Linked DNA regions of Homo sapiens: all the other regions are linked to region 2. The links are contacts of gene promoters, found by promoter capture Hi-C in human tissues and cell types (Jung and others, 2019). All regions are on one chromosome and are shown on one strand. The core of a region is centred on a gene start or on the middle of the fragment in contact, and the rest is flanking DNA. Distances in the headings are between cores, read along the strand shown.

What was found. The method cuts DNA at HindIII sites, captures the fragments that hold promoters and counts their contacts. A contact is called where the count stands out against the background at its distance.
Region 1: a contact is called between a fragment that was not itself captured here and the fragment with the promoter of MRPL38 in region 2, in 2 of the 25 tissues and cell types used here (dorsolateral prefrontal cortex and spleen).
Region 3: a contact is called between a fragment that was not itself captured here and the fragment with the promoter of MRPL38 in region 2, in 6 of the 25 tissues and cell types used here (H1 embryonic stem cells, lymphoblastoid cells, mesendoderm cells and 3 more).
Region 4: a contact is called between a fragment that was not itself captured here and the fragment with the promoter of MRPL38 in region 2, in 2 of the 25 tissues and cell types used here (lymphoblastoid cells and spleen).
Region 5: a fragment that was not itself captured here is called in contact with the fragment with the promoter of MRPL38 in region 2 in 1 of the 25 tissues and cell types used here (dorsolateral prefrontal cortex).
Region 6: the fragment with the promoter of RNF157 here is called in contact with the fragment with the promoter of MRPL38 in region 2 in 1 of the 25 tissues and cell types used here (adrenal gland).

What each region holds. Positions count from the first base shown.
Region 1 is chr17:76,214,112-76,217,494 of GRCh38, reverse strand. All of the region lies in intron 1 of RNF157 (ring finger protein 157), which reads left to right. Among named protein-coding and RNA genes, the nearest start is that of RNF157, 25 kb to the left of the region's middle. The HindIII fragment of the contact is 4,066 bases long and covers 1-3,383 here.
Region 2 is chr17:75,903,041-75,906,433 of GRCh38, reverse strand. MRPL38 (mitochondrial ribosomal protein L38) reads left to right here and starts at 1,550. Exons shown (of 9, transcript NM_032478.4): 1 at 1,550-1,625; 2 at 1,715-1,894. The coding sequence starts at 1,559. RefSeq lists silencers at 1,145-1,624, 1,635-1,684, 1,705-1,754. The HindIII fragment of the contact is 5,940 bases long and covers 1-1,879 here.
Region 3 is chr17:76,174,948-76,178,347 of GRCh38, reverse strand. The region is part of intron 2 of RNF157 (ring finger protein 157); the gene reads left to right. Among named protein-coding and RNA genes, the nearest start is that of FOXJ1, 35 kb to the right of the region's middle. The HindIII fragment of the contact is 4,379 bases long and covers 1-3,400 here.
Region 4 is chr17:76,283,871-76,286,945 of GRCh38, reverse strand. The region is part of intron 7 of QRICH2 (glutamine rich 2); the gene reads left to right. Among named protein-coding and RNA genes, the nearest start is that of UBALD2, 20 kb to the right of the region's middle. The HindIII fragment of the contact is 8,859 bases long and covers 1-3,075 here.
Region 5 is chr17:76,323,423-76,326,911 of GRCh38, reverse strand. The region is part of intron 7 of PRPSAP1 (phosphoribosyl pyrophosphate synthetase associated protein 1); the gene reads left to right. LOC124904120 (small nucleolar RNA U13) reads right to left here and starts at 2,716; the gene lies at 2,613-2,716. The HindIII fragment of the contact is 3,003 bases long and covers 1-2,938 here.
Region 6 is chr17:76,238,275-76,241,742 of GRCh38, reverse strand. It overlaps RNF157 (ring finger protein 157), which reads left to right and starts at 1,250. Exons shown (of 19, transcript NM_052916.3): 1 at 1,250-1,590. The coding sequence starts at 1,503. It overlaps LOC105371896 (a long non-coding RNA gene), which reads left to right. Exons shown (of 6, transcript XR_007065913.1): 6 at 1-881. RefSeq lists silencers at 1,076-1,145, 1,166-1,305 and an enhancer at 1,610-2,282. The HindIII fragment of the contact is 11,074 bases long and covers 1-3,468 here.

The DNA of each region.
Region 1 (3,383 bases), core at 369-2,868, 310 kb before region 2:
CTCTAGAAAGACTGAGCAAGTAGAAAGCTTTATTCAGTCTGAAAAAGGCTGATTTGCTTTTCTCATTTGTCTAAATGAAAGCAAGCTGCTAGAGGGGTTCATTTCAAAGAAAGGAAAAAGCAAATTTTTGGTTGTAAAATGAAATACCAATAAGTAAATTTATTTTTCCTTTTAACAGATGAGGATGGCTGGGCTCGGTGGCTCACACCTGTAATCCCAACACTTTGGGAGGCTGAGGCGGGCAGGTCTCTTGACCCAGGAGTTTGAGACCAGCCTGGCCAACATGGTGAAACTCCATCTCTACAGAAAAACAAAAACAAACAAAAAATAGATGAAGGTTTGGGGAGCTCTTTTTAATTCATACAATCTTGCACATTTTATGCGTCTTCCCCTTAATAACCAAAAGTTTAGAAATTAATATTGCTAAAGAATTATTGAGTGATTGAACAGGTGTTCAAGCTAATTTTAAGTAAAAGTAAGAACAATTTTGCCAACTTTGTAATTTTGAGAAAATCATTCCCAGTTATAAGTATACAGCTTATATAGCTTTTATGGGGTTTTTTGTTTGTTTGTTTGTTTTTTGTTTTTGTTTTTGTTTTTTTTTGACACAGGGTCTTGCTCTTTTACCCAGACTGGAATGTAATGGCGCAGTCATGGCTCACTGCAGGCCTGACCTCCTGGGCTCAAGTGATCCTCCCACCTCAGCCTATTGAGTAGCTGGGACCACAGGCTTGGGCCATCATACCCAGCTAATTTTTTAATTTTTTGTCGAGACAAGGGTCTAATTATAATATATTGTGAACATTTTTAATGTCAGTAGATATAGATTTACAACACCACTTTGAAAGGCTTCATAATACTCTACTGACTGAATATACCATAGTATTATTATTATTATTATTTTTAAATATACAGAGACAGAGCCTCACCATGTTGCCTAGGCTGGTCTTGAGCTCCTGGGCTCAAGTGATCCTCTCACCTTGGCCTCCCAAAGTGCTAGGATTACAGGTGTGAGCCACCACACCCAGACTATTCTTGATTTTAATGCAAGGCAAAACTACAATTAGCTCTACACATCTTTTGTGGTCATTTCTTTTCTTTTAATATTATGGCATAAAAGGGCATTTCTAATCGAACCCTGTTGCCTGCTTTAACTCTTTAGCCCCCAAATCATTAGGGGTCCTCTCTCGCTAGGTTCAATCATGGCCACCTCTAAGCCAATCATCCATGGATTTTTACTGCCCCAGATCCCTCCCCTGAGATCTCACAGGTACTGGAAACTCAGTGGTCCCACACTGAGGTCAACCTAGACAATTCCAGACATCAAACTCTCTTCTCTCCCTTTCTTTTTTCATGATTTGGGCAAGCCATCCATCTGTGTAACATCTTTAACTTTTCCAATTTTACCTAATATATGATAAATGTATAATTCCTGATGCATAGAAAATATATCTTGCTGAAGTTCATCAGTAAATGACTTAAATTATTTGAGATTGCTGCTTCTACTTAAGGCAACTAGGTACCTCCCCTCTCCATAAATTATGCACTTGGAAAATAGGGCTAGCAAGTGCCAGACATAAATAATTGATAATTAAGCTTTCCTAAATGATGAATTCTGCTGTTGTATCACTGTATCAGATGGCTGCCCTTTGTCTTTTTAAGTTTTAATGGGTGACTTTCAGTAGTTCCTCAGTGATTGCTTTGATCTGGGTTGCATTATTACTCTCAAAGAATGTTTTCCTGCTTGTTTAATTCAATAGTTGCCTCACTTTGTGGTGAGTGATTTTATCCACATTGTTTTATTTAATAGATGTTTCTAGACTAAAGCTCCTTGTGTAGAAAGTTTTAAAAATGAATGTTTGGTTCAGTTTTTGCTAGAATTTTCTTCTCTGTCTTCCTTCCTATGGCTTCTCCACAGGCTCAAAGTACTGAATCTCATTTTTTTTTTTTTTTTAGTTTGCTATAAATCTTTTTTTCCTTTTTTCTTTTCTTTTCTTTTTTCTTTCTTTCTTTTTTTTTTCTTAGAGAGGGTCTCACTCTGTCACCCAGGCTGGAGTGCAGTGGCAATCATAGCTCGCTGCAACCTTGAACTCCTGAACTCAAGCGACCCTTCTGCGTCAGCCTTCTGAGTAGCTAGAACTCCAGACGCATGCTACCATGCCCAACTAATTTTTGTATTTTTATTTATTTTTTGTTTTGTTTTTAGTAGAGACAAGGTCTTGCTAAGCTTGCTAAGTTGCCCAAGCTGGTCTCCAACTCCTGGCCTAAAGCAATTCTCCTGCCTCAGCCATCCAGAGTTTTAGGATTACAGGCAAGATCCATCACACCCTGCCTGCTACAAATCTTCAACAAAAATTGCAACTGATTTAGGGAGTTTGTGTATATCCTCAATGTATTATACACAAGCAAGCCTTTTGCCACTTAATAAGTTCCTTGTGTTAATTTCAGAAATGGGGTATATGAGAGTGTTGATAAAGGTATATTATGGGATGTGTCCTTTACTTTGGACAGCTTACCTTCATGGGAGAATTAGATAATAGAAATTAGAGGTAAGCGGCATTCGTTTAATCATCAAACTTAAAATGTATTCCCAGATGTAATTTTCAGCATAACCTAAGCCTCCTTTGGTGACTTCTCAGTTCCATCATATCCTGTCACAGTTCCTTGGTTTGTCCGGATGAGGCTGATGGGAATTTTGGCCCCTGACTGCTGATTTCATTTGGTTATTATATTGCACTGAAAATATTTCTGCCTCCTGGCTGATTAAGAAGGGGCAAAGGGGCCCTGCCATGACTGATGTCCCAGCAGTTCTGGCCATTAGCACTGTTAATGAATTTGAGGTGGAGAGGGTATGTGTGTAGCCTTCTTTCATAGCATTAAATTGTCCCCTTATTTTACACCATAGTCTGTGTAGTAATTGGTAGAGAAAGCCAGGGATAACTGTATTATCTAAATTCGTATTTTCCTGTGAAACAATAATGTTTGCAGCAAGTTAAAGTGTGAAGAACCTTCATCATAGAAGGTTATGGAGGTATAGCAGTAGTGGTGGGTGGGTACTGAGACTTCTGTGTGTAGGTATAAGCTGGCTTATGAAAATCTAGGCAAAGAAATGTGTGCGTCTGCGGATATAGGAAAAAAACTCAGTTTCTCCTATACACTCACAACACAAGCAGCACAGAAAACTTCTGTGACCTCTGGTCAGCAAAATGTGTGGGGATTCTCTCCACCAGCAACCACTCAGTTCTGCAGAGGACACCAGCTGGGTGTCCTCCAATTCATTTCACTTCTGATACTACTTGAAGATAGTGTCCCATCCCACAGGTTGAGGGTGCAATCTCACAAGACTGCCCCCCACTTCTGATGCCCATCGCAAGCCCCAGGTT
Region 2 (3,393 bases), core at 301-2,800:
TGGGATGTCAGAGCAGGCTTCCTGGAGAGACCCCTCTCCTGGGGCTGGGTGGTGGCCAGGCCAAGGTGGGGCAGTGAGGAGGTGAGAGGCAGAAGACACAGCGTATACAAAGGCCCCGTGGCCTGGAGGCAAAGTGCGATGGAAAAGTCTTGCCTTTTAGGGCAGGAGGGCCAGGGCTGGGGCAAAGGAGGGTCCCAGATTCCCCAGGCTACCAAGTTTTGCCATGGTAGAACTGGATCACAAGGGCAAGCCTGAGTCCTGCCAGAAACATTCACATCTGCACTTAACCAGGTCACTTCTGCCTTTGTGTGGATAATGAGAAGTTGGAGATAGTTGAGCTAACACACAAACCACTGCGAGCGCTTTCCAGAGGGTAATCTTTTCATCCTGACAGCTGTCAGGTAAGCACTAGTGTTAACCTGCTTTTTCCCAAATGAGGAAACCACAAGGAAGACAGTAAGGTCACGATCTGGTTTTTTTTTGGGGGGGGGGAGGGGCATTTTGAGACGGTGTCTCACTCTGGCACCGAGGTGGTGGCGCAATCTCGTCTCACTGCAGCTTCTGCCTCCCGGGTTCAAGTTAATTCTTGTGCCATAGCCTCCTGAGTAGCTGGGATTACAGGCGCCTGCCACCACGCCCGGCTAATTTTTGTATCATTAGTAGAGATACAAAAATTTTTGTATCTTTAGGGTTTTGCCATGTTCGTAGGGCTGGTCTCAAACTAATTACCTCAGATGATCCGCCCACCTCGGCCTCCCAAAGTGCTGGGATTACAGGTATGAGCCACCGCGCCCAGCCACAATCTGGGTTTTTATTACTATTATTTTATTATTATTATTATTATTGAAATAGAGTTTTCACTTTTGTCGCCCATGCTGGAGTGCAGTGGCGCGATCTCGGCTCACTGCAGCCTCCGCCTCTGCCTCCCAGGTTCAAGCGAGTCTCCTCCCTCAGCCTCCCGAGTAGCTGGGATTACAGGCGTATGCCACGCCCGGCTAATTTTTGTATTTTGAGTAGAGACGGGTTTTCACCGTGTTGGCCAGGATGGTCTCGATCTCCTGACTTCGTGATCCACCCGCCTTGGCCTCCCAAAGTGCTGGGATTCCCGGCGTGAGCCACCGCGCCCAGCCCTCAATCTGGGTTTTAAACCCAAGCAGAGTCCGGAATCGGAGCTCGCACCCCTTCTCCCAACCAGGCCTGCGTCCCTGGGGAAATCAGGACGCAGCGTCCAGGGGTTGGAGGAGGGCCCCGGCGGCCGACCCCGGTCTGTGCCGCCCCCTGGTGGCCAGCCATGGGCGAGCATATGACTGCTCTCGGCTCCGCCCCGCCGTCCAACGGGCACTTCCGGAGCCGGGCGTCTACAGACCGCGGCCACCTTCCACCTGCGCCCGAGGCAGACGGTGCAGGGGCCTCCGGGACAGGCGTCTGAGGCCTGCTCCGCAGCGCGGGCCCGGGGGCGGGCCTAGGGGCGGGGCCTGCTGTGGTGCGCTCAGGCACCGCGCTGGCCACCTGTGCCCGGGTCCTAGTGGCGGCCGCAGTGTCGCAGGCCGGAGGGAAGATGGCGGCGCCCTGGTGGCGAGCCGCGCTGTGCGAGTGTCGGAGATGGCGGGGCTTCAGCACCTCGGGTGAGGGGTGGGCAGCTCTGCGGGGGGGGGGGGGGGGGCTGTCGCCCGAGCTGTGGGGCGCCGGCCTTACGTCTTCTCTCTGCCCGCAGCCGTCCTGGGCCGCCGGACACCCCCGCTGGGGCCGATGCCCAACAGTGACATCGACTTGAGCAACCTGGAGCGGCTGGAGAAGTACCGGAGCTTCGACCGCTACCGGCGCCGAGCAGAGCAGGAGGCGCAGGCCCCGCACTGGTGGCGGACCTACCGAGAGTATTTCGGGGAGAAGACAGGTGCGGGGCGACTGGAGCAGGGGCTGCAGCCACCGCCCGGGGAACTCGGGACCCGCCGGCGTTTTCCCCGGGCGCTGGGCGAGCCTTGCCGGCGCCCTTGTGGATGCTGGGGACGCTGGGAGGGCCTGCCTGCAGACCTGTGTGCGCTATCGGCAGCTTAATCACCCCAGGATTTTTCACACCTTCTGCACCTCATTCTTGGAAAATTCGCTCCCCCTACTATTAGAGTTCCAGCTCCTAAAATATTTGCTCCTAAAATCTTGACCACCTGACTTTCCGGATTGGGATGCCGTTCTGTGCGCCTCAAATACTCTGTAGGTAACTCTGGCCACACTGCATTCTGACTGTGCGCTGCCTCTCCCCAGATTGTAAGCGCCCTGTTGACAGGGATCCTGCTTGTCTTGCCCTCCATTGGATCCTTGCACCCGAACAGTGCAAGGATGTACATGTGCAATACTTTGCTGAATGAAATTAAAGGCCTGGGCAGGGTGACTCAAAAAAGAACCCAACCTGGCCGGGCGCGGTGGCTCACGCCTGTAATCCCAGCACTTTGGGAGGCCTAGGCGGGCGGATCACCTGAGGTCGGGAGTTCGAGACCAGCCTGACCAACATGGAGAAACCCCGTGTCTGCTAAAAATACAAAATTAACTGGGCGTGGTGTCGCATGCCTGTAATCCCAGCTACTCGGGAGGCCTCTGAGGCAGGAGAATCGCTTGAACCCAGGAGGCAGAGGTTGCGGTGAGCCGAGATCGCGCCATTGCACACCAGCCTGGGCAACAAGAGCGAAACTCCGTCTCAAAAAGAAAAAAAAAAAAAGACCCCAACCTTTAAGGAACTTACAATTTATGGAGTATATGCTTTTCTTTTCTTTTCTTTTCTTTAGCATTTATAGAGGCAGTTTTGTGGTGGTTAAAGGCACAAGCGTGGAATCTAAATAGCCCGATTTAAATCCTAGCTCAGCCTCTCGGATAATGTCCTTGAGCTTGTTTCAACTGTAAAATAAAATAATTGTGTCTTTGCTACAAAATTGCTGTGAGGATTAAAAGAGGCAATTCATTGGCATTTTTGCCTAATGCCATCTCTGATGAGGGCTCAGTATGTTTTCGTTATTATTATTTTGTTTTGTTTTGTTTTAAGGCAGAGGCTCGCTCTGTTGCCCAGGCTGGAGTGCAGTGGTGCGATGACTCACTGCAACCTCTGCCTCCTGGGTTCAAGCGATTTTCCTGCTTCTGCCTCCAAAGTAGCTGACACTACAGGCATGCGCCACCACGCCCAGCTAATTTTTGTATTTTTAGTAGAGATGGGGTTTCACCATATTGCCCAAGCTGGTCTGAAACTCCTGACCTCAAGTGATCCCCCTGCCTCAGCCTCCCAAAGTGTTGGGATTACAGGCGTGAGCCATAGCACCTGGCCGAGAAGCACTTCTATAAGTCCTTCTAGCATCAGTCATTCACTCTACCTAGGACAGCTGGGTGTTCATAGCCACCTGTGAACAGGCT
Region 3 (3,400 bases), core at 96-2,595, 270 kb before region 2:
GGCTGTGGCTGGACCAGGTGCACTGCAAGCAGCTCTCCCGGTTGGCACCAGGGAATGTGGTGGCACCCGGAAGCTTGGAGATGCCAGGAACTACAGGGCCACAAAGAGGAAGTCATAGCCCTGGCTTGGGCAGCTCCCAGGTCTGGGCTCCCCGACGGGCCACAGCTCTTCTCTCCTCTTTGCCTGCAACATGACAAGCAAGGAGCATGTTTCAGTCCTGTTTGTGTTACAGCTCTTTTAGTCCCACCATTCCATGGGTCCAAAATTCTTGTCCTGCAACAAGGAAGAATGAGATACACAGACAAACATAGGGTGAGCAAGACGAAGAGGAGCCTTATTGAGCCTTGGAACAGCTCAGAGGATACCCGCAGTGGGTAGCTCTTTCCGCAGCCAGGGTGTCCTGACAAGTGTCCTAGCATAGAGACCCTGGAGTGGGAAGCTCTTTTCCGCAGGAAGGTCATCCTGTCTTCTCTGCAGCTCTCAGCAGAGAGGAGGCCCTGGAGTGCGTAGCTCCTCTCTGCAGCTGGTCTTATGGACATCTCTGCAGCTATCAGCAGAGAGGAGGCACTGGAGTAGGTTGCTCCTCTCTGCAGCTGGTGGTCCCAACCTCTGCTCTGTTCTGGCTGAGCCTGGGCCTTTTATGGGCCTCAGAGGGGAGGAAGTGCAGGTAGACTGGTCCCTGGGCATCCATGGGCAGGCCTAGAAAAGGCAACACAAGTTCCCACTCCAGTGGGCGGGACTGGCAGCCAGGCCCCCAGCCTTCACGTCCTCCCTGAAGGCCAGCACCAAGCTGCCCTCAGCACCCCCTCGCCTCTCCCCCTTCCCCTTCCCTCATGCTCATCAGTGCCCAAAGTCTGGAAGGGGCCGAGGCAGCAGGGGGCTGGCTTGTCAGCGCTACCCCGAGCATGTGCACTCCTAGCCTGGCTGCAACAGCACCTTGGCTTGGCCCCACACTGCTCTAAGATCAGAGCCAGCACCAAGAGCAAGCAGAAGCTAGGCGGCAGGAGCAGGCACTTCCGAGCCTGCTGGGGCGGGGGGGTGGGAGGGCTTTTCCGTGTCTCCAAGAGCTTATGGAGGCCCCCGATCCACAGCCCAAGGCGGGGCTGCTGCCTGTTCCTGGCTTCCACCGGCTCTGTGGAGCATGCAGCCCCTGCAGCACCCCCTTGCAGCCTGGGGCAGGGGCTCCAGGTCCTCACTGGGCCGGGGCCAGGGCCGGGGCCAGTGTCCAGGGCAGGGTGACATCGCCATGAGCTCTGCCTGTTCCCCCGGTGCTTCACGGGCAGTCTGGGACAGAGTGGATCCTGGGCCTGGGCCTGGGCCAGGCCATCTGCCCAGGAGTGTCAGGCTCAGTGGTCACCCCAATGTGGGGCAGACCTGGGGGCGCAGCCCCAGACGGGCTGCGCAGAACCTCCTCCCGAGGCACAGGAACCTGGCACCCTCGGCAGGGTGGGCACAGTGGCTGCGCCAATGGCCAGGTGCCCGAAGCGGAAGCTGCTCCCACTTCCTGCCCGGGGCCCCTGAAGCATGGCCCCAGCTCCGCGCCCAGGCCTGGCCCTGGCGCTCCATGAGCAAGCGGGACACTGGCCAAGGCCCAGCTCCGCCTCGGGGCTCCTCTTTGCCCTACCGCGCTGCTCTTCTGCCACGCTGCTCCTCTGCTGGTGGGTAACCCGGCCAGCCCCATGGGGTGGCCTCCAGGGCGGCAAGCTGTGGAGGGGCTGTCTGTCTGCTCCCTGCGACCCCCCTGCAGCAGCCGTTGTGATGGCAGCGGCTGCTCTGGACAGCCCACCACTGTCATCAATAGTAAGCACTCAATAAATGGTAATTTTTGAAAGGAAGATAACTCACTAAGAAATTTCGAGAGTAATAGTAGGCAAAATCGATTTACAGAAGAATGGGAGACAACTCTAAGAGCAGAAAAAAAATTTTTTTTAATTTGCCTCTGATCCTACTGTCCCCTCCATCTTCTCTGTTATCTCTGAATTTGCAAATTTCATTTATCCTTTAGGATCCCAGATCAACTACCAACTCCTCCATGAAGCCTTCAGATTACCTCAGCCAGAAATGATCACTTCCTTTATTTTTGCCTTTTGTGGCAAAAAAATATCCATATATTTAATCTCTTTGATATTACAATTACTATGTCAGCTGCCTTATAATGCAGCTTCCTGAAAGAGCAGGGCCTTATCTTCTTGGTTTTCAATCTCTCCTTACTCCTGGCATGGAGTGTTGCATGTAGACTCTGATTGCATGAATGCAAGGCCAGCAAGGCACAAACTTTGGTGGGTAGCAGCCCACGAACAAGCTTCTCCTGAACAGATTTGCCGTTGTTGTCTTGTGCGTGTATGTGTGTGTACAGGGAGAGCCTAAAGTATAGGGGTGGATTTATAAACAATTGAACTCATTGATACCTTTCCTTAAGAGCCAAATAGCTTATGTTTCATTGCCACAGTTATCATCAAATATATTCAAAATGGAGGATAAAGAGTGCCAGGATTTTTTTTTCTTTCTTTTTATTTTTCTCTCTTTTGCGGCAGGGAGTGGCTATGGAGGAGAAAGAGTAAAGAATAAGGGAAAAGACGCATCTTTTTTTTGAAATGCAGGTAGGAGTTATGGATAACGCCCAAGTACCTGTACAAATGAAAATGATTAACTTTGCTACTCCAGAAAAAAATTTTAATCCCAAAGTCATTTATTTTGGCTTTAGAATAGACTAGCGTTTGTGTCGGATTTTCCTGCCTAATTACTTTTTGCTTAAGCTTATTTAAAAATTGTTTTAAATTCCTTTAGTATGACAGCCTAGGAAAGTTGGGGGAGGAGAAACAGGCCACAGATGGGATCTGAACTAGAATTTCAGTTTTACCATGTCAAGGCCTCCTGATGCACTGCTTGCAGGAGGGCAAAGTTGGAGTCAGCTTTGTGGAAAACTGTTTGGCAAAATAATTTTTAAAGTCTTAAAAATATGCTTACTCTTTGATCCTGTAATTCCACTTCTAGGAATTTGTCCTTAGGAAATAATCAAACAAGCATGCAGAAATATAGGGACAAGGATATTCACCACAACATTTATAGCTGCGAAAAAAAGTAAAACCAACATAAAATATTGAATAATATGGAATTGATTAAAGTATGCTATTATCTGCAATGTTATCAAAATTATGGACTTTAAAAATGTTTACCACATCTTTTTAGGTGAAAAAGAAACTGCAAAATAGTATGTTCAGTGTGAAACAGCACATAGATATAGAGGTGGACAGGATGGATGGATAGACGGACGGATGGAGATACGTATTCCATAATGTTAATTTTGGTATTGCCGAGTAGTAAAATTAGGGATAGTTTTGTACTTTTTTGTGTTTTTCAAGTTTTCTGCTTAAACATATATTACTTTGTAATTAGAAAA
Region 4 (3,075 bases), core at 456-2,955, 380 kb before region 2:
GAAAGGAACCCCTACAACACCTGTTTACCTCCCATTCGATCTTTCCCTATCTTTTTTTTTTTTTTTTTTTGAGATGGAATTTCGCTCTCGTCATCCAGGCTGTAGTGCAGTGTCGCCATCTTGGCTCACTGCAACCTCCGCCTCCCAGGTTCAAGCAATTCTCCTGCCTCAGCCTCCTGAGTAGCCAGGACTACAGGCATATGCCACCACGCCCAGCTAATTTTTGTATTTTTAGTAGAGACGGGGTTTCACCATTTTGGCCAGGCTGATCACGATCTTTCCCTATCTTTTTTATGATATAATCATATATCAATGAATTCACCCTTTTAAATTGAATAAGGTAGTTTTTAGTACAAAGTTGTGCAACTATCACCACAATCTAATTCCAAAACATTTAATCACCCCAGAAAGAACCCTGTGACTCTTAGCAGTCTCTCCCTGTTCCCTTCTGTCCCTCAGCCCCTGACAACCACGAACCTGCTTTCTGCCACTATGGATTTGTCTATTCTGGACATTTCATATAAATGGAATCATGCAACATACACTTTTGTATCTGGCTTCTTTCACTTAGCATGATGTTTTCAAGGCTCATCCATGTTGTAGCATGTGTCAATACTCCATTCTTTTTTATGGCTTCATAGCATTCCATTCTGCGTCTATGCCACAATTTCTTTATCTAGTCATCAGTTGAAAGACATCTGGGTTGTTTCCATCCTTTGGCTATTATGAATAATGCTGCTATGCACATTCATGTATACATTTTTTTTTTTTGAGACGGAGTCTTGCTCTCTCGCCTAGGCTGGAGTGCAGTGGCACGATCTCGGCTCACTGCAAGCTCTGCCTCCCGGGTTCCTGCCATTCTCCTGCCTCAGCCTCCCGAGTAGCTGGGACTACAGGCACCTGCCACCACGCCCGGCTAATTTTTCAAAATATTTTTAGCAGAGACGGGGTTTCACTGTGTTAGCCAGGATGGTCTCAATCTCCTGACCTTGTGATCTGCCCGCCTTGGCCTCCCAAAGTGCTGGGATTATAGGCGTGAGCCACCGCACCTGGCCATAATAAGTTGTTTTTTTGTTGTTATTTTGTTTTGTTTTTGGAGATGGAGTTTCGCTCTTGTTATCCAGGCTGGAGGGAAATGGCACGATCTTGGCTCACTGCAATCTCCAACTCCTGGGTTCAAGTGATTCTCTTGCCTCAGCCTCCCAAGTAGCTGGGATTACAGGTGCCTGCCACCATGCCCAGGTAATTTTGTATTTTTAGGAGAGAATGGGGTTTCACCATGTTGGCCAGGCTGGTCTCAAACTCCTGACCTCAGGTGATCCACCCGCCTCGGTCTCCCAAAGTACTGGCCTGGCCTCATGTATAAGTTTTTGTGTGGGGCCGGCTGCGGTGACTCACGCCTGTAGTCCCAGCACTTTGGGAGGACGACGCAGGTAGATCACTTGAGGTCAGGAGTTGGAGACCAACCTGGCCAACATGATGAAACCCCATCTCTACTAAAAATACAGAAAATAGGCCAGGTGTGGTGGCTCACGCCTGTAATCCCAGCACTTTGGGAGGCCCAGACGGGTGGATCACGAGGTCAGGAGTTCGAGACCAGCCTGACCAACATGGTGAAACCCCGTCTCTACTAAAAAAATACAAAAATTAGCCGGGCGAGGTGGCACGTGCCTGTAATCCCAGCTACTCAGGAGGCTGGGGCAGGAGAATCACTTGAATCTGGGAGGCAGAGGTTGCAGTGAGCTGAGATCGCACCATGCACTCCAGGTTGGGTGAAAAAGCGAGACTCCATCTCAAAAACAACAACAACAACAACAACAGAAAATAGCTGGGTGTGGTGGTGCACACCTGTAATCCCACCTTCTCAGGAGGCTGAGGTAGGAGAATCACTTGAACCTGGGAGGCGGAGGTTGCAGTGAGCCATGATCGCGCCACTGGACGCCAGCCTGGGTGACAGCGAGACCCTGTCTCAAAAAAAAAAAAAAATTATAGCCACTTTAGTGGGTGTGAGGTGGGATCTCATTATAGTTTTGATGTGCGTTTCCCTAGTGACTAAAGATGCTGAGCATCTTTTCATGTGCTTTTTGGCCATTTGTATACTTTCTTTTTCATCTTTTTTTTTTTTCTTTGAGACGGAGTCTCACTCTGTTGTCAGGCTGGAGTGCAGTGGCGCAATCTCAGCTCACTGCAACCTCCGCCCTCTGAGTTCAAGTGATTCTCCTGCCTCAGCCTCCCAAGCAGCTGGGATTACAGGCGCCTGCCACTGCACCCGGCTAATTTTTTGTATTTTCAGTAGAGACGGGGTTTCACCTTCTTGGCCAGGCTGGTCTTGAACTCCTGACCTCGTGATCCACCCGCCTCGGTCTCCCAAAGTGCTGGGATTACAGGCGTGAGCCACCACGCCTGGCCTGTATACTTTCTTTAGAGATAAAATATACATATCCAAATCCTTCATCCATTTTTTCAGGTGAGTTATTTGTCATTTTATTGTTGAGTTGAAAGAGCTCTTTACATGTTCTGGATGCTACACTCTTATTTGATAGATGACTTGCAAATATTTTCTCCCATTCTGTGGGTCATCTTTTCATTTTCTTGACAGTGTCTGTCTTTAAGCCTTGCAATGCAATTCTTGGTCATTTTCTCACTAAGGATTGTCTGAATCAGGAGCAGCCCTCTGAGTGCTCACAGAAGAACCACCTAGGAAAAGCCACTGGGCCAAGCGGGTTCATGTCAGGAACCTCTTTGTGCATTTTTTTTTTTTTTTTTTTTTTTTTTTTGGAGACAGAGTTTTGCTCTGTTGCCCAGGCTGGAGTGCAGTGGCACCATCTCAGCTCACTGCATTCTCCACCTCCCGGGTTCAAGTGATTCTCCTATCTCAGACTCCTGGGTAGCTGGGACTACAGGTGCACACCGCCATGCCTGGGTAATTTTTTTGTATTTTTAGTAGATACAGGGTTTCACCACATTGGTCAGGCCGGTCTTGAACTCCTGACCTCAGGTCATTCACCTGCCTTGGCCTCCCAAAGTGCTAGGATTATAGGCATGAGCCACTGCACCCCGCTTTTTTTTTTGAGA
Region 5 (3,489 bases), core at 188-2,687, 420 kb before region 2:
TGCAGACGTAATGTCCCTTCATTCCTAAATACCTTCGTGTATATTTGTAAAGACAAAAGACTCTTATATAACCAGAGTATCATTATCAGACTCAGGAAGCTAACATTGCTGTAACACTGTAATCTACAGACCTTACTCAGGTTTCACCAGTGGTCCCAGCAGTGTCCTTTAGAGCAAAAGAATAAACTTGTTTTCTTGTTCAAGACCTAACCCAGGGTCACACATTGCATTTAGTTGTCATTTCTTTTTAGTCTCATTTAATCTGGAGTGGCTGCTTTATTCTTTGTTTCTTATGACCTTGATACTTTTGAACAGTGCGATCAAGTGATTTTGTAGACTCTCCCTTAATTGGGGCTTGTTTGTGTCCTCAGGATTAGATTCAGGTTATGCATTTTTGGCAGAAAATCACAGGAAACACATGATGTGTCCCATTACTGGTGATGTGCATTCTGATAAGTTGGTTAAGGTTTCTCTGGCAGGTTTCTCCACTGTAAAGTTACTCTTTTTTTTTTCCTCTTTGTAATTAATACTACCTCATGTTAAGACTATGTTTTAACTGTAAATATTCTGCTTCTCATCAAAATGAACATCTACTGATGATTCTTGCCTGAATCAATTATTGACTGTGATTGTTGTCAGTGTTCATTTTTCTAACTCTATCATTCCTTCTACATTTATTAGTTGACCTTCTAATGCAAGAAAGCTTTCTCTTCTTCCCTATTCATTTCTTCATTTATATCAGTATGGATTCATAGGCCTATTTCATTCAGTGGGTTATAATTCATTGTCGTCACAGGAATACCTTAAATATTGCAGGTTCAGTTCTGCACCATTGCAGTAGGTGAATATTATAATAAAGTGAGTCTCATGAATTTTTTGATGTCCCAGCACATGTAAAAGTTATGTTTATACTGTAGTCTGTTAAATGCTCAATATCATTGTGTCTAAAAACCAATGTACGTACCTTAATTTAAAAATACTTTACTGCTAAAAAATACTAGCAGTTGGCCAGGCGCAATGGCTCAGGCCTGTAATCCCAGCACTTTGGGAGGCTGAGGCGGGCAGATCACGAGGTCAGGAGATCGAGACCGTCCTGACTAACACTGTGAAATCGCGTCTCTACTAAAAAAATGCAAAAAATTAGCCGGGCGTAGTGGCGGGCGCCTGTAGTCCCAGCTACCGGGTGGCTGAGGCAGGAGAATGGCATGGAGGCAGGAGAATGGAGGTGGAGCTTACAGTGAGCTGAAATCGCGCCACTGCACTCCAGCCTGGGTGACAGAGCGAGACTCTGTCTCAAAAAAAAAAAAAAAAAATTAGCAGTCATCTGAGCCTCCATCTTGTTGGTGGAGGGTCTTGCCTCGATGTTGATGGCTGCTGACTGATCAGGGTGGTGGTTGTTGAAAGTTGGGATGGGCTGTGGAAATTTCTTTTCTTTCTTTTTTTTAAGAGATGGGGTCTGTTTCCCAGGTTGGTCTTTTTTTTTTTTTTTTTTTTTTTTTTGAGACTGAGTCTCCTCGCTCTGTCGCCCAGGCTGGAGTGCAGTGGCGCGATCTCAGCTCACTGCAAGCTCCGCCTCCCGGGTTCACGCCATTCTCCTGCCTCAGCCTCCCGAATAGCTGGGACTACAGGCACCCGCTACCACGCCCGGGTAATTTTTTGTATTTTTAGTAGAGACGGCATTTCACCGAGTTAGCCAGGATGGTCTCCATCTCCTGACCTCATGATCCGCCCGCCTCGGCTTCCCAAAGTGCTGGGATTACAGGCGTAAACCACTGTGCCCGGACCCAGGTTGGTCTTGAATTCCTGGCCTCAGGCAATTTTTCTTTTCTTTTTTTTTTTTTTGTTTTGAGACGAGTCTCTCTCTGTCGTCCAGGCTGGAGTGCAGTGGTTCACCCAGTTCACTGCAAGCTCCACCCCCCAGGTTCACACCATTCTCCTGCCGCAGCCTCCCAAGTAGCTGGGACTACAGGTGCCTGCCACCACACCTGGCTAATTTTTTTTTTTTTGTATTTTTAGTAGAGATGGGGTTTCACCATGTTAGCCAGGATGGTCTCGATCTCCTGACCTCATGATCCGCCCGCCTTGGCCTCCCAAAGTGCTGGGATTACAGGAGTGAGCCACTGCACCCTGCCAGCCTCAGGCAATTTTTATACCTCAGCCTCCTGAGTAGCTGGGATTACAGGCAAGAGTGATTGTGCTCAGCTGTGGCAATTTCTTAAAACAACGAAGTTTGCCTCGTTGATTGACTCTTCCTTTCACAAAAGATCTTTCTGTAGCATGTAATGCTGTTTTATAGCTTTTTTTTTTTTGAGATGGAGTTTTCGCTCTTGTTGCCCAGGCTGGAGTGCAGTGGTGCAGTCTTGGCTCACTGCAACTTCCACCTCCTGGATTTAAGTGATTCTCCTGCCTCGGCCTCCCTAAGTAGCTGGGATTATAGGTATGCATCACCACACCTGGCTAATTTTTTTTGTATTTAGTAGAGACAGGGTTTCACCATGTTGGTCAGGCTGGTCTGGAACTCCTGACCTCAGATGATCCACCCGCCTTAGCCTCCCAAAGTGCTGGGATTACAGGCGTGAGCCACTGCGCCCGGCTGACAGCATTTTTTAAAATGTCAGCCAGGTGATGTACTGATGTTCTAACAAGGTTCAAGGATGGCACATCTCACATGTAAGCGTGAACACCCAATGATCACACTTATGAACTACAAAATGATCTGTTTGATAGCATTTTACCTAGAAGAAAGAACTACTTTCTTTTTTTTTTTTTTTGAGACAGTCTCACTCTGTTGCCCAGGCTGGAGTGCAGTGGCACCATCTCGGCTCCCTGCAACTTCTGCCTCCTGGGTCCAAGCAATTCTGCCTCAGCTTCCCGAGTAGCTGGGATTACAGATGTGTGCCACCACACCCGCCTAATTTTTGTATTATTAGTAGAGACAGGGTTTTACCATGTCAGCCACGCTGGTCTCGAACTCCTGACCTCAGGTGATCTGCCCGCCTCGGCCTCCAAAAGTGCTGGGATTACAGGCGTGAGCCACTGCGCCCAGCCGAAAGAACTACTTTCAAAATTGTAGTCACTGTTCTCAAACCCTGCCACTGTGTTATCAAATAATTTTTGTAATACTTCTAAATCCTTGTTTTCATTTCAGCAGAGTTCACAGCATCTTCAGCAGTAGATTCATCTCAAAAAAAAAAACAAAAAACCTTCTTTGCTTATCTATCAAAGCAACTCCTTATCCATTACAGTTTTATCATAAGATTGAAGCAGCCCAGTCACAGCTTCAGGTTCCAGTTCTAATTCTAGTTCTTTTGCTCTTTCCACCACATCTGCAGTTACTTCTACCATGGAGGCCCTGAACTCCTCAGAGTCATCCATGAGGGTTAGAATCAACTTCTTCCAAACTCCTGTTAATGTTGATATTTTGGCCTCCTCCCATGAATCACGCGTGTTCTTCATGGCATCTAGAATGGTGCATCCTTTCCAGAGATT
Region 6 (3,468 bases), core at 1-2,500, 340 kb before region 2:
CAGCTACTCGGGAGGCTGAGGCAGGAGAATCCCTTGAACCCAGGAGGCGGAGGTTGCAGTGAGCTGAGATCACGCCACTGCACTCCAGCCTGGGCGACAGAGGGAGACTCCGTCTCAAAACACAGAAAAACAAAAACAAAATATAACCAGGAAAGACCTAGACTCCGTAAAATAGCTTTACAAACCTAATCAAGGGAACCAGACACCCCAAACTGTACTTCGAACACTGTTGAAAAGTTGTGAAAGTCATGTTCTAGCAGTTGAAATGTTTGCTGATCAGTCCACTCTCTCAGGAAAAAAAACACCAGACCCACAAAGAAAATAGAAGGTTTAAAACACAAATGTCTGTAATTAAGCAATGGAATGACGTCTTCCGCCGGCCCAAGCTTCCCACTGTTGTGTGTGTTTTTATCAACAGGAGCTCCCGGTTCTGCCTGGCCCGGTTCGCTTTCGCCTGCGTTGACTCTCTTGGCACTCAGGCCTTTCCAAAGTTTCCGGGGTCCCGTTTCCACGATACAGACAGAGGCTGGATGTCTTGATCTTATCCTCAGTCGATGTTCTCCTAACTTTAGGGCTACAAGGAGCCTTAAACAGCATGTATAGAGTTGGGAGCGCTTTGAATAGACGCACGTGAGAGGGAGGCGGCATCTTCCTAGCCGGTCACCAGCATTAACACGGGGCAGGAGACATGCGAATGCACCGTGGGACCCCTCTCCCTACCCCCCTGCATGAGATTTCCGAAGACCTCCGCCGGCCGACGCTGAGGGGCGGGGTTGGGAAGGCTTCCTCCAGGCGCGGGAGCAGCGGAGCGGGGACCGCCCGCTTTGGGACGCCCAGGACAATGGCGAGCGAGCTCCCGGCCAGTCCTCGCGGACCGCGGGAGGGGGCGGCTCCCTGCGCGGTAATCCGAGCCGGGATAAACAGGCGCGGAGGGGCGACGCGTCCCGGCCGGGTGCAGCGCTCGTCTCCTGGGGTCCCAGCTCCGGCCGGTCCCGCCCCGCCCCGCCGCGGGCACCCGGCCGCGCCCCCGTCCCCGTCGCGAGTCCCCGCCCACGCCCACGCCCCCGCCGCGAGGCCCTGGGCCGCGTCCACGCGCGCCGAGTCCAGCCGCGGCTCCCCGCGCGAGGCACGCGCCGCCGGCTCCTGCTGCAGTCCCGCGCTCATTGGCTGCTCCGGCGCGGGCGCTCCCGCCCCGCCTCGCCATTGGCTGGGGCCGCCGCGGTCCCCGCGCGGAGCGGCCGCTGACATCACGCGGCCTGAGGCGGCGGCGGCGCCCCCGGCCCAGACCCGCAGCCCCCTTGGCAGAGGCGCCGCCGCGGTGCCCGGCGGAGGATGGTGCGCGGCGCGCCGGGGGCTCCCCGCCGCCAGAGCCGCAGCGCCGCAGCGGAGCCGGCCGCGGCGGGCAGTCGGCCCCCGCACCGGGCGCGGGGCGGGCGGCCGCGGTGAAGCGCGGAGGGCGGCGCGGGCACCGGGGCCGGGCCGGGGCTGCAGCCGCAGCGGCCATGGGGGCCCTGACGAGCCGGCAGCACGCGGGCGTGGAGGAGGTGGACATCCCGTCTAATTCCGTGTACCGCTACCCGCCCAAGTCCGGTGAGGGCGGGCGGGCGCCGCAGCCGCGAGGAGGGAGAGGGGCAGGGGCAGGGGTCTGGGTCGGGACGGCCTGAGGGGGCCCCGCGGGTCTTCGGGGACTCAGTGGTTGCGGACGCTCCGAAACGGTCTTCGAGCGCGGGAGGTCTTCGAGAAGGCCGAGGTCTCCCCCGCCCCGGGCGAATTAGCCCAAGGGGCGTCCTGCCGGGTCTAGCAGGGTCACCGAGGGCACCGAGCCCCTCCACGGGAGGACGGGAGCGGCCTCCATTGTAATCGGCCCCGTGACGGGGACGCGTGCCCGCAGGGACCGAGGCTCCTGGGGAGCGGGGCTGCGGCGTCGTAGGCGAGGTCGGCGCCCCGCACGGACCCGGCCGGCCCGGCCCAAAGCCTACCTGCCTCGCGGGGTCCGAGGGCCGCGAGGGAGGCGACCTCGGCATCCAAACAGGCACTTGCGCCAGGTGCTATCCCTGCGCTGCCGTCTCCTGGCCTCTGGAAAGGTTAGAATTAGGTTTCTCCTGGAAAAGCTTCCATTGCCTGCTGAAGGATGGAAGCCAAACAGGCATTTGCAGTGCTGGTGCTTTTGCAGAGGCTGTCAGAAGCCGGGGGGTGGGGGGGGTGGTGGTGGTGGAAAGTAACAGAAATGTTTGGGAATCTGAGTATCAGAGTTACTCGGATTGCCCCTTTGCTAGCGTAGTGGCAAGCCTGGGTTTTGGAGTGGGACCAGCTCTGGGACAGGGCAGAGGTATTGGAAACGTATAGAAGTATGTTTGTTATTAGAATCATCCCTTCACTTAAATGTCTCTAGCCTCTGGATTGTGGTATCAGCATTGGAGGTGGAGGAGGATTTTGACAGCAAAGCAGAGAATCACAAGGTAGTTCAGTTATGTGAGCACCGGCCAGTATGAATTGCATGACCTAGCCGGTGTTTACTTTTAATTGCAAGTAGTTTTATTTTAATTAATTACTTTTAATTTTATTCTCAAGACTTCTGAGGATGAATGGCTGCGACATTCTGTCTGCTTAGGACCCGATGGAGATTTTGGTGATTTCGGAATGAGGTGTCAGAATTGGAGCAGAGCCTCGTCTCTTTTTGGTAGAATAGAGACATACTGAGATGAGCTGGTTTCTCAGCAGTGTGTCCAGTGTCTGCCAGGTGAAAGCAGGGGCCAGACGATGAACCTGCCCGCATCCCTGCAGAGTGTCTGCCAGAGCTGTGTTTCTCACTGCTTTTGTACCAAAGAATGAATCCTTGCAAAGATGAATATGGTGAAGAATTGTTTTAGAAAGGTCTAAGATAAAGCTGTGGGTCGTTAGTATTTTAATAAAGCTCTGACTGATTATGACTACATAAAATCAACGCTAACCAAGGCATAGATTTTGTTTTTTAATAGACAAAAATATTCTTAGGGCGGCATGAGGAAAACTTTTTAAAATAGACAAAAATATGCAGCAGTATTTGTGGGCTCTGTTTTTCTTAAACCACATGGCTTTTATTGATCAAAATATGGAGCATACTTTGCTGAGCTTGGAATTTTCAATAGTGTTTGCTGCCTCAGGAAAGTATTCACCGCTCTTTCATATGTGGGACTTAACATAGGTAAACCTCTGGAAGGCTGTTCCCCAAAGCATATTTGTACAAGTATGAATCTTGGGTGATGATAATAAAAAGACAATAGACCAAACCAAAACTTTTGTTAATTAGCACACTCAATAAATAATCCTCTCCTCTCTACCAGTTTTAAAAGTTTAACTGTAAAACTGTAATTCATGTTAAATCAGAAGTTATACATGAGAGAAGTCTTTATAGCAAGTGGACCACATTATTTCTGTTGAAGCTAAAACATAGAAAATAGAATCAGAACATCCTGTCTCTGTCAGCAA